Regions from separate parts of the Homo sapiens genome. Here regions 2, 3 and 4 are each linked to region 1. Evidence: promoter capture Hi-C in human tissues and cell types (Jung and others, 2019). All regions are on one chromosome and are shown on one strand. Each heading gives the region's core, a stretch centred on a gene start or on the middle of the fragment in contact. The rest is flanking DNA. Distances are from core to core; before and after follow the strand shown. Region 1 holds the start of GABRG3 (gamma-aminobutyric acid type A receptor subunit gamma3). Region 2 overlaps GABRG3 (gamma-aminobutyric acid type A receptor subunit gamma3). Region 3 overlaps GABRA5 (gamma-aminobutyric acid type A receptor subunit alpha5). Region 4 overlaps GABRG3 (gamma-aminobutyric acid type A receptor subunit gamma3).

What was found. Contacts are between HindIII fragments. The study calls those that stand out against the background at their distance.
Region 2: a contact is called between a fragment that was not itself captured here and the fragment with the promoter of GABRG3 in region 1, in 3 of the 25 tissues and cell types used here (dorsolateral prefrontal cortex, liver and spleen).
Region 3: a fragment that was not itself captured here is called in contact with the fragment with the promoter of GABRG3 in region 1 in 3 of the 25 tissues and cell types used here (dorsolateral prefrontal cortex, spleen and stomach).
Region 4: a fragment that was not itself captured here is called in contact with the fragment with the promoter of GABRG3 in region 1 in 1 of the 25 tissues and cell types used here (dorsolateral prefrontal cortex).

The regions. Positions count from the first base shown.
Region 1 is chr15:26,969,747-26,972,706 of GRCh38, reverse strand. It overlaps GABRG3 (gamma-aminobutyric acid type A receptor subunit gamma3), which reads right to left and starts at 1,526. Exons shown (of 10, transcript NM_033223.5): 1 at 1,119-1,526. The coding sequence starts at 1,171. The HindIII fragment of the contact is 15,270 bases long and covers 1-2,960 here.
Region 2 is chr15:27,031,347-27,034,306 of GRCh38, reverse strand. The region is part of intron 3 of GABRG3 (gamma-aminobutyric acid type A receptor subunit gamma3); the gene reads right to left. Among named protein-coding and RNA genes, the nearest start is that of GABRG3, 62 kb to the right of the region's middle. The HindIII fragment of the contact is 3,014 bases long and covers 38-2,960 here.
Region 3 is chr15:26,927,885-26,930,844 of GRCh38, reverse strand. The region is part of intron 7 of GABRA5 (gamma-aminobutyric acid type A receptor subunit alpha5); the gene reads right to left. Among named protein-coding and RNA genes, the nearest start is that of GABRG3, 42 kb to the left of the region's middle. RefSeq lists an enhancer at 1,206-1,754. The HindIII fragment of the contact is 7,071 bases long and covers 1-2,960 here.
Region 4 is chr15:27,012,234-27,015,193 of GRCh38, reverse strand. The region is part of intron 2 of GABRG3 (gamma-aminobutyric acid type A receptor subunit gamma3); the gene reads right to left. Among named protein-coding and RNA genes, the nearest start is that of GABRG3, 43 kb to the right of the region's middle. The HindIII fragment of the contact is 9,195 bases long and covers 1-2,960 here.

The sequences.
Region 1 (2,960 bases), core at 277-2,776:
GTAGTTCACAAATAGGAATGAAAAGGCAAGGCCTCCTGGCATTGCCTCCTGATGGTGGCCAGGCTTGTGCACGCAAGGATGCCCTCTGATTCTCTAGCTCCCAGACCCAGGAAATGGAGAAGCGTCAAAACAAGAGGGTTTGGGGGATAGGGGCACGCTGAGCTTCCTAGGGTGGGGAAAGAGGTAAAGGCCAGACACTGCTCCAATTTTCAAATAACAGGACAGTCTGCAAGCTCTAGCCAGAAATCCAGCCAGAGAGACAGAATTAAAGAAACTAAACCCAGAATCTCCAGTTGTGTTTACAGCAACAGGATTTAACCCTTTGGGTCCCACTGTCCTTGTATCCTCATGCGCCCTCTTCATCTCTTCTAGAGTGATTCTAAGCTCCCATTAGCCGGTTGGTGTACTGGGAGGAAGGTTGCGGAATTTATGGTGAGATGATTTCTTACATTACCAGGCAGAAGCCTTATTATCCATTTCGACATGCGTGCTTTATGGGGGTGGGAGTGCGTGTGTTCCTCTGTGTGAAAGTGGCTGATGTGGAAGGTGTGTGTGTGTGTTTGCAGGACCTGGGAGGGGAGTCCTCCCAGACAAGCAGGGCTTTCTTCTGCCCACCTGGTTCCAATCCCCCCGCGCCTGCCTCCAATGCATTAGCTCTTTCCAGCCCGGTCTAAACTAGGCAGTTAGAACCACGGTTCCCGGGTTCTTGGAAATTTCAGAGTGATGGAAATGACAGAGAATGTCAGCCAAAGTGTGTGTGTGTGTGAGCCCCTGAAACAGCTGAGGTGGGAATTAGGGGTCGGTAAGGAGCCAGAAATGGCCCCTGCCCCCTGAACCTGGTTCTCAAAACCCCTTAAAACCACCAGATCCTAAAAGCGTCAGGAGACGAGCCCATTAATCTGAGTCCCCACACTCCCGGCTGCAGAGGAAAAAGCAGATGACCGTGTCCAAGGGAGCTGGGACAGGTGAGGTGCAGACCGACTTCCCAGTCCCCTCCCGGCCCGCCGTGCCGCAGCCCAGCCGACGGCTGGCGCGCCAGGGACTCCAGCAGACAGCGCCCCCCGCCGCCCTGTCGCCCAGCTCGGGGCCTCCGGGGATGCGGCCCCCGCGCCACTTACCGCGCGTGCAAGCCCGAGAACAGGCAGAGGAGGAGCAGCAGCTTCGGGGCCATGGTGCCGTGGAGCTCGGGGCGCAGGGTCCGGGGCCTCGGCCGGGCGCGGCTTCCTCCGGCGCGGACCTGGTCTCCGCCGGCCCTCTTTGCCCTGGCTTCCTCCGAGGCTGCTGGCCGCGGCGGGCGGGACAGGTATCTACTCTGGCGCTGGCCGCGCCCCCGCGGGGCGCACACTGGACGCACACGGGACGCCGGGCCACCGCGGCGCGCCGCCCCCACCCGCGCACTAGCGCCGGTCCGCGCAACCGGGCGGCGGGAGCAATGGGCGCCGGGGACCCCCTGGCGCGGCGCCGCCCACCCCGCCTGGAGCCGCGAGCGGGCGCGGGTGCCCAGGCCGGGGCTGTGTGCGCTGTGCTGGGAGGTGGGGGCAGCTGGGCGGCTGTCCCCTGGCAGCGCCTCCGAGGCGGTCCCGGCGGGGAGGAGTTTCCCCAATTACACGCCTGACAACGCGCAGGGCGAGGAAGGCGAGGTTTGAATGGACTCGGAGTTTGAGGCCAGGAAGGGGGCGGAGCTCCGAGGGGGAGGGGAGGCTGGGGATCCCGCAGGGAGCCTGAAGAAAGGTCCCCGGGGTTGGCACCATGAGAGCGAGCCCGCGGTCCGCCTTCCTCCAGCCATTTCTACCCCAGTGCAGGTTTCCTCCAGCGCTCCCTGACCTCCCGTGCCCGCCGTCGCCCGGGGTTGAGACGGTTTGCCAAAAGCAGCCCTTCCATCGCACTCTTCGTGCTAAGTCGGCTGAACTCCTAGGCACTGATAAGATTCTGTGCTTGGAAAGGTGGCTTTCTGCGGGAATATTTGGGAAAAAAGCACCCCAGATTTATGCCTTTCTTACAGAAAAGAGAGACTAACACATAGCAATAAACAGTAGAGGTGGAAAGGCATGTTAAAGGTAGGAGCTAGAAAGATCCTAAGGCAAGAAGCCAAAGACGTTCCGTTTGGTGGAAGCATGAGGTGCGCCTCATTCCATGTATTTTCATATTCCAAAAACCGAAAATGGCATTTACGCTTTCATTTGTCATAATCATTCAGAAAGTTAGTCTTGCACCATGTAAGTATTGCAATCGCAACAGTGTAGTAAATCCACTAGGAATTTTACATTTCTATCACCCCCAAAAAGTTCTTAGAAAATGTTTTATAACTGCTATTCATAGAATTATGTAAGGGTGTGATAACTGTTTCTTTAATATTGTCAAATAGCTTTGTTCGGCCAGGCACAGTGGCCCAAGCCGGTAACCCCGGCACTTTGGGAGTCCGAGGCAGGCGGATCACTTGACCCCAGGAGTTCGAGACCAGCCTAGGCAATGTGCAAAAACCCTGTCTCTACAAAAAATAGTAAAGAATTAGCTGGGCATGGTGGCATGGGCCTGTATTCCTCTGGTGTGTTCCCCCTTGTTTCTGGATAGGCATGAAGTGGAGGGGAGTGCAGTTGTTAATGACAATATTGTTTTTCAACAATGGAGCTGTCATCTCCCTGGCATCACCTTTCTGTCTCTGTGAGGTGCTGAACTCACCCAGCTCCCCGCCTTTCCAGGACTCTTTCTGGCATTCTCATCCTCCTCTGCCCAGCACATCCCTCCTACTTAGGTGCACATGCCCTATAAGGTCCCCTCTTTGATGAAGACTCTGACGCTCCTGCATTCTTCCACTTCCAACACCTGTACCACTCCTTTAGGCTTCAGGGGAATATGAGCCTTTATCATACTCTGCCCTAATCTCTAATTTTCTGTACCAAAATCTGAGCACTTTAAAAATCAGTTAGATGATGATTTATTGTTCCTTCATTGCTTATGTC
Region 2 (2,960 bases), core at 295-2,794, 62 kb before region 1:
AGAGAACTGGCCCTGAGTTACATGCGTGGCCTGAATCTTCAGTGATGGACTATTCTCTAACTCTGCAGAAAGAGGACAACAGGAGATCCACAAAGCCAGAGCAGTTGTATGCTTTTCGAGAATAGAAAACATCAAATTAAGGCATCAATACAGGCATATACGTTTTCATACAGGGTAAGTTGTGTATGCTTTTCATATGGAGAAGTCATGGTGAGTTAGATGGTATCCCTCACATTTTAAGGTGGATGACAATGATCTGGAGATCCTGTTAAAATGCAGATTCTGATTCAAGGAGATCTGGGGTTTGGCATGATTCTCTGCATTTCTAAGAAGCTTGCCAGTAATGCCAATTCCTCAGGTCCAAAGGCCATGAACACTGAGGGGAGAATTCACGGATGACATAAAACTGAAAGTGTCACAAAATTTACAGGTTGTAATACAATAGCAAGAATAGCAACAAACAATCCTTTTGAACATTTACTATATACTATATTAATGCATAAAACCACAAAAAAATCTACGACAGCAATAAAATTTTTTCATTTTTCAAGTGGAAAATGAAATATTGTTCATTTTATAAAATAATATTAAAACCACATATAAGACCATCATCCTCTTAAACAACTGAAAAGGGCCACATGCTTTTTTTCATCTAAAGCTAATATTGCTAAAAGAAATACATAATTCGTATCCTTTAGTGTCGTTCAAAGCATCATTATTTTATAGAAAAAACCTGAAAACAATGGACCCTAGAAAATCCTCTTATTCGCTAACCTGAAGGCAGTTCAGGAGGTTACCAAAGCAACAACAAAAATCTCCCAGTCAGATTGTATCTGCTTTGACTCTGCTCCAACTTACTTCCTTGCTAGCTATCCAGAATCAATCCTTATTACACCTAAACTTAAATTTCCAAATCAAGGATGCATGGCTAGGATGGGATACCTTGCAGTAGACTGGCACCCTCACTAAGAGCAAGCGAGAAAGCTAAGCAAAAATCCATCTGAAGAAGCCAAAACAGAGGCAGCAGGCTCACCATGGTAAACATTTCCTGCACGCCACTTCCCCCGAGAACTTGTCTTCTGCTGACAGGGCACGTAATGTGAAAACCTGGACAGAGAGAATAAAGAACCCGGGAGAGCTTGAGGGAAAAACTGGCCAAGAAGTCAAAAAAGGAGGGGCCACAATTTCAGGGAATATGAATGTCAGAGAAGAAAGCCAACCAATACTGGTTATCTCCTCGACACATTTACTGACTAAGTTGTACAACATAAGAGGTTAAAAAACAATTGTAAAAATGGCTTAAAAAGAAGGGCTGTATTTTCAGCCATTTTTTGGTGTTGACACATTCCAGGCCCTCAGTTGGGACCTCTGGGGAACGATGCAGAAAGGCAGGGGAACCAGAGTCCAGTGGAGCCTCTGCAAGACTGCAGGTCAGCCCCATGCCAGCTCAGACCTACAGAGAGGCAAGGGAAAAACCACTCAATGCCTCTACAAATCTTTGTACACAATGAAAATTGCCAGGTGATATGGTTTAGATGTTTCATCCCCTCCAAATCTCATGTTAAAATGTGATTCCCTTGTTGGATGTGGGGTTTGGTGGGAGGTGTTTGCATCATAGACATGGATCCCTCATGAATGGCTTAGTGCTGTGCTCATGGTAATGAGTGAGTTCTCACTGTTAGTTCACAAGAGATCTGGTTGTTTAAAAGAGGCTGGCACCTCCTCCCTCTCTCTCTTGCTCCCTCTCACCATTGACAAGCTGGCTCCCCCTTCACCTCTGCCATGATTGGAAGCTTCCTGAGGCTCTCATCAGAAGCAGATGCTGGTGCCACGCTTGTACAGCCAGCAGAACTGTGAACCAAATAAACCTCTTTTCTTTATAAATTACCCAGTCTCAGATATTCCTTTACAGCAATACAAACAGACTAATACATCAGGCATACCAAGTAATAGAAAGAAGCAAGAAAACAGACATTAGAAATGGAACCAGAGATGGCAGAAGGGACTTCATGGTTAATGTGTTCCAGAAAACAGATTGCAAGATGGAGAATCGCACCAGAGAACTAACATACGTTAGAAAGAATCAAATTAAAATTTTCGAACTGAAAACATAATAACTGAAATCAAGAACTCAATAGACAGCTTTAAAACATCACAGAACAGAGATGAAGAGTGACTTCATATGCCAAAAGATGGAGTGCAAAGGAAGAAATAAAAAACAGCACAAGCATAAAAGCAAGTGGGACCTGGGAGAAGCATGTAACCTTCACATGAGCAGAGTCCTAGAACGGTGCCAAAACAATATTTAAGAAATAATGGCCACTCTTTTTCAAACACTGCTGAAAGTTATCGAACTACAGATGCAAAAACTGCTATGAACTTTACGCAGGAGAAATGCAAAGAAAAACCAAACAAGGTCAGGAGCACCACGGTGCTTCAGCTGTCACTTATTTTAAACTTTCCTGAGCTTAGATGACTCCAAAAGAGTTCCACAAAGCAATAGATCATCCTCCAGTAATGACCAAATGGAATTTACCTTCCACAGGCCCTAATCAGGACTTGGTATCCTGACTTCACTTCTTAAAGCTTCAGCCACAAGTGGAATGGAGCAGAGATAGGGTTGAGAGGCCTCATGTGTTCTTTATGATTTCTCTGGCTGCATGTCATCTTTTCAGTTTTAAATGTGTAGGTGATCTATCATATAGTATAATTTGGTGATGTTGGACCTGTCCCACAATCCACAGAGCCATCCCATCAATTTCTGGTAACACATGGTCACGCTATAGTCACATTACAGTGGCTCGCTACAAGTCTTAGATTTCCTCAGATGAATTGGTATCAGTACTTTTTAAAACGAAGGAAAAAAAGCCATCCTACAAGGTTGACTATTGTATAATTTGAAGTATGTGACACTTAGGAAAAAGCAAAACTATGGAAACAGTAAAAATATCAGTGGTTGC
Region 3 (2,960 bases), core at 291-2,790, 42 kb after region 1:
GAAATTGGCACCAAGACTGGGGTGCTGCTATAACAAATACCTTGAAATGTGGAAGTGGCTTTGGGACCAGGTTATGGGTAGAGGCTGGAAGAGATGTGTGCTAGAAGAAGCCTACATTTTCATGAATGGACTGTTTAAAGCAACTCTGGTGAGGGCCCAGAAAGAAAAGAGGAGAGTTGTAGAGAAAGTCTCCATTTTCTTAGAGAATATATAAGCAATCCAGAGCAGAATGTTGGTTGGAATATGGACAGTAAAGGTCATTCCAATGAGGTCTCAGACAAAAAATGAGGAACATGTTATTGGAAACTGGAAGACAGGTGATCCTTGTTACCAAGTGGCAAGGAGCTTGACTGAACCATGTTCGTGTTATAGTCATAGTTTTCGTGGAAGGTGGAACTAGGAGTAATGGAGTTGAATATCGGCTAAGGAAATATGCTAAACAAAGTGTTGAAGTGACCTGTTTCTCTAATAGCTTATTGTAAAATGGGAGGAGAGGGAAATGACTTAAAGATGGAATTGTTAGTTAAGAAGGGAGCAGGCTGGGCATGGTGGCTCACACCTGTAATCCCAGCACTTTGGGAGGCTGAGGCAGGCAGGTCACCTGAGGAGTTTGTGACCAGCCTGGCCAATATGGTGAAACCCCGTCTTTACTAAAAATACAAAAATTAGCCAGGCGTAGTGGCGGGCACCTGTAATCCCAGCTACTCGGGAGGCTGAAGCAGGAGAATCGCTTGAACCCGGGAGGTGGAGGTTGCAGTGATCGTGCCATTGCACTCCATCCTGAGTGACAAGAGTGAAACTCCATCTCAAAAAACAAAAAACAAAAAAAAAAAAAAAAGAAGAAGAAGAAGAAGAAGAAGAAAGAAGCAGAATTTAAAGATTTGGGAAATGTTCAACCTATCTATTTTGAAAGGAATGAGAAAGCCTGTTTGGGAGAGAATACCGGGATGGGTGTGGCCAAAGGACCATTTAAGAAAGACATTCATTAGTCAGCCACCCCAACAGAAGCCAAGAGCTGCTGTGCAAGACAATGGGAGAATGCAAAGGAGGGATGCTGGTACCTGCAGGACGGAGAGGCGCCCTGCCCTGCCCTGATGTGCACTGCCTTACCTCTTGGGCTCTGCTCCCTGCTCTCCAGCACCACACTCCTCAGCCACCCCAGCAGGGGTTCTGGGGGGCCCTGGTGTGGTGAGGGCTGCGCTCAACAGAGCAGAGGGGGCACAATGGCCTCCACCTAGATTTCAAAGCACTGGGCTTCCAAGCACAGCCATTAGGACCCCAGTCCCAGAGAGCTGTGGGGCACAGGCATAAGCTGCTACAGGGGCAGGGGATCCCCAAAGTCATGCGGCCCAATCCCTGCCTGGCAAAACTGCTGGGACACAGCTGCTGCCCCAGTGTGACTGGAAGATATGGAACTCTTTCCCCATGGGTCTGCAGGGCAAAGCGTGGGCCAAGGAGGGCTAATCTGAAGCTTTAAGGTCTGATGGAACTTGCCCCGCTCGGTTCTGGACTTTCTCTGCACCTCTCACTCCCTTCTTCCTTCTCACTTCTTCCTTTTGGAATGGGAATGTCTATCCTGTGCCTGCCCCCATTGTATTTTGGAAGCACACAACTTGTCTGGTCACAGTTTCACAGCTTGAAAAGAATTCTGCCCAAAGATAAATCATACCTTGGGTCTCACCCATATCTGATTTAGAGGATATTCAGCTAAGACTTTGGGCTTTAGACTTTTGGACTGAAACCATGTGAGAAGAGCATGAATGCTGGGTGTCCAGGGGAAGAATGTGATAGACTAAATAACTGTGTCCCCCCCAAAATTCATATGTTGAAATCCTCAGCCCCAAGATGATGGCATTAGCAGGTGGGGCGTTGGGAGGTGATTATGTTATGAGGATGGAGCCCTCATGAATGGGATTAATGCCCTTATAAAAGGTGCCCCTGGGAATTCACTCACCCCTTCCATCGTGTGAGGGCACAGTGAGATGATGCTGTCTTAACCAGAAAGCAGGCCCTCACCAGACACTGAAACTGTTGGTAACTTGATCCAAAACTTTCCAGCCTCCAGAACTGTGAGAAATAAGTTTCTGGTGTTTTTAAGTCCCTCAGTTTGTGGTATTCTGTTATAACAGCCAAACCAGACTAAAGCAACACTCAGAGTATCTCTTAGATGGTAATTGTTTTAGTCTGCTTGGGTGCCTTCTCATTGTCCTCACATGGCAGAAGGGACGGGAGAGCTCTCTGGGACCTCTTTTATAGGAGCACTAATCCCACGCAGGAGGACCCCCCACCCTCACGTCCTAATCACCTCGTAAGGGCCCCACTTCTTAATACACTGGGGATTGGGTTTCAACACATGATTTGGGGAGGAAACAAACATTCAGATTCCAGTGACAACCAAGGGTAACTAACGCATCAACGTGATTGTTGAAACAATCTAAATTCAGACACCGCACAGTTAAAACTTCAGTATGTTTCTACAACTGTCGAGACTGTAACATGTTCACACGAGGCACTCAGAAACCTGTGTTCTAGATCATCCACGCTCATCCTGAGTCACTAGAAGCTGGGGATGATGAATGCAACAGCAGGCATAATTCATGTGTCTGAATGGAATAGTAGCTCACTCCGGTGAAATTCACCCCTCATTTCCTGAAATTCTCTCTACTGGATGACTACCAAAGAAGCTTCCAGTTCTAATTTAGTACATATTTTCGTGAATCCAGATGTCATCTCATGGCTTAATATTTAATGAATCACTCCACAAATAAAATGAATGACATAATCTAAATATATTTTTTTCCTAAATAGTCTTGTTGTGTTTAAGTATTTGCTTCCGAATGGACACCATGCCATTATTTTTAAGGAATTTCCTTATGGACCGAGAAACATCCTTTTGTAAGCTGAGACTAATTTCAAGATTTGATGGAATTCTTAAGAGTAGAGATACCAATAACAGAAAT
Region 4 (2,960 bases), core at 328-2,827, 42 kb before region 1:
GTATGCTGTCTATAAGAGACTCACTTTAGATCTAAGGACATACATAGGTTAAAAGTGAAAGGATGAGAAAAGATATTCTATGCAAATGGGAACCTAAAGAAAGCAAGGGTGACTATATTTGTATTGGACAAAAGAGATTTTAAGTCAAAAACTGTCGCAAGACACAAAGAAGATTGTTATTCAGTAATAAAAGGGTCCATTCACAAGAAAGACATAACAACCATAAGTATATATACACCTAACGTTAGAGTTCCCAATTTTATAAGGTAAACATTGGCAGAGCTGAAGAGACAACTAGACAGCAACACGATAATAGTAGGAGACTTCAATATCTCACTTTCAGTTATATAAAGAACCAGACAGAAGATAAGCAAAGAAACAGAGGACTTGAACAACACTACAAACCAACTGGACCTAACAGACATATTCAGAACACTCCACCCAACAACAGCAAAATACACCTTCTCCTCAAGTGCAACTAGACATTCTCAAAGATAGAAGACATGTTAGTCCACAAAACAAGTTTTACCACATTTAAGATTTAAATCACTCAAAGTACAATAGAATGAAACAAATCAACAGGAAAGCAAAACAGGAAAATTCACAAATATATGGAAATTGAATAATTTACTCTTAAACAACCAAAGGGTCGAAGGAGAAATCACAAGGGAACTTAGAAAATATATGGAGACAAATAAAGAAAACACAACATATCAAAACTTATGGGCTACAACAAAAGCAGTACAAAGGAAGAAATTTATAGCAGTAAAGACTTACATTAAAAAAGGAGGAAAACCCTCAAATCAACAATCTAAGTTTACACCCTCAAAAAACTAAAAAAAAAAAAATAAAGAAATGTAGCTGAAGAAAGCAAATAATACAAATTGTACAGAGATAAATGAAATAGGAAATAGAAAATAGAAACAAAATCAACAAAACCAAGAGCTGATTCTTCGAAAAGATCAATGAAATGTATAAACCCTTAGCTAGACTAAGAAAAAAATGAGAGAAGACTCAAATAACGATACTTAAAAATGAAAGAATGTTACAACTGATGTCACAAAAATAAGAAAAATTGTGAGACTATTATGAATAATTGTACGCCAATTGTACTAAAGAGGCAAAGGACTTATACACCAAAAACTACAAAACATTGTTTGTAGAAATTAAGGAAAACACCAGTAAGTAAAAAGACATCTTGCTTTCACAGATTGGAAGGCCTAATATTGTTAAGATGTCAGTCCTATTCAAAGCAATCTACAGATTCTATATAATTCCAATATAAACGCCAACTGCATTTTTGGCAGAAATAGAAAAGCCAATTCCAAAATTATATGGAGTCTCAAGGGACCCCAAATAGCCAAAACAATCCTGGGGGAAAAAAAAGAAAGTTGGAGGTCTGAAACTTCCTATTTCAAAAACTTACTACAAAATCAAACAGCATGATACTGGTATAAAGACAGATATAGAGACCAATGGAACAGAATAGAGAGCCCATAGTTAAATCCTTGCATAAAGTAGCCAAATGAATTTCAACAATGATGCCAAGACTACAAAATGAGAAAAGGACAGTCTCTATAAATGATGCAGGGACAATTGTATCTCCATATGCAAAAGAATGAGGTTAGCACTCTTACTATATATCATATAAAAAATTCAACTCAAAATGGATCAAAAGCCTAAATATGAGACCAAAAACTATAAAATGTCTATGAGAAAACATTGGAAAAGATCATTATATTGAATTTGGTAATAATTTCTTGGATATGACAGTAAAAGCTCAGGAAACAGAAGCAAAAATAGACAAATGGACTACATTAAACTTAAAAACTCCTGCACATCACAATAGCCAAGACGTAGAAGGAACAGAAATGTCAATCAACAGGTGAATGAAAAAAGAATATGTGGCATATACATACAATATTGTTCAGCCTTGAAAAACAAAGAAATCCTGTCATGTTCTACTAGGTGGATGAACTTTGAGGACATCATGTTAAGTGAAATAAGCCAAGTATAAAAGGACGAATATGTTAAGATTCCACTCATATGAAGTATCTTAAAGTAGTTAGAAATCCAGATGTGAAGTCCTATGATTCCATTACAGCTGATAAGCCTAACTACTACAAAATATTTTATTTTTCACTGAATTATTTCAAATTTCTTTCACCTTCCAATCTATTCTTACAGTTCAAACATTTCCAGTATTATAAACTGTTTGAAGGGTTTTATTAATACGTACCTTTTAACAGCCTCCCTTCTAGTGTAAGTGGTAAGTAAATCTTGTTTTTGCCTTTCTGCTTACCACTATTCATTCTACAAATAATTAGTGGATGACTGGTGAGCTAGACAGAGTTCTAATGTCTGAGGACAGAGCATAATCAAGACACAAAGTCTCCACTTTCTTAGCATTTAAATCACAGTGCGTGAAACGGAGATTAAACAAGTAAACTAATCAATAAACCAGCTGTTTTTTATAGTTATGAGTACTATGAAAGGAATAAAACCAGGTACTGAGATAAAGATTGACTATGGTGTGGGAAAGAAGAGTCTACCTTGGATATGGTGATTCACTCCCCATATCCATTCCTTCCTATAGAGTTAATACAGCCTTGAAAAAGCACACAACCCAGTAACATCTAATGTATTACAAAGAGAATACATATATAATGCATCCCACAAAAAGATATTGAGATTTTAAAATATATCTGTAAAGATTATAGTCAAGAATTTCCCAAAAGTGATGAAAGACATCAAATCACAGATCTGAGCACTTCATCAAACTCCAAGAATGATGAACATTATGAAAACCATACCTGGGCACATCATTATCAAATTGCTGAAAAGTTAATAAAGAAACAATTCTTAAGATGAGCCCAACAAAAGGTACATTGCATAAATAACAAAAATAGTTAAGATCATGGCTGACACCTTATAAGAAACAACAGAAATCAAAAAACAAT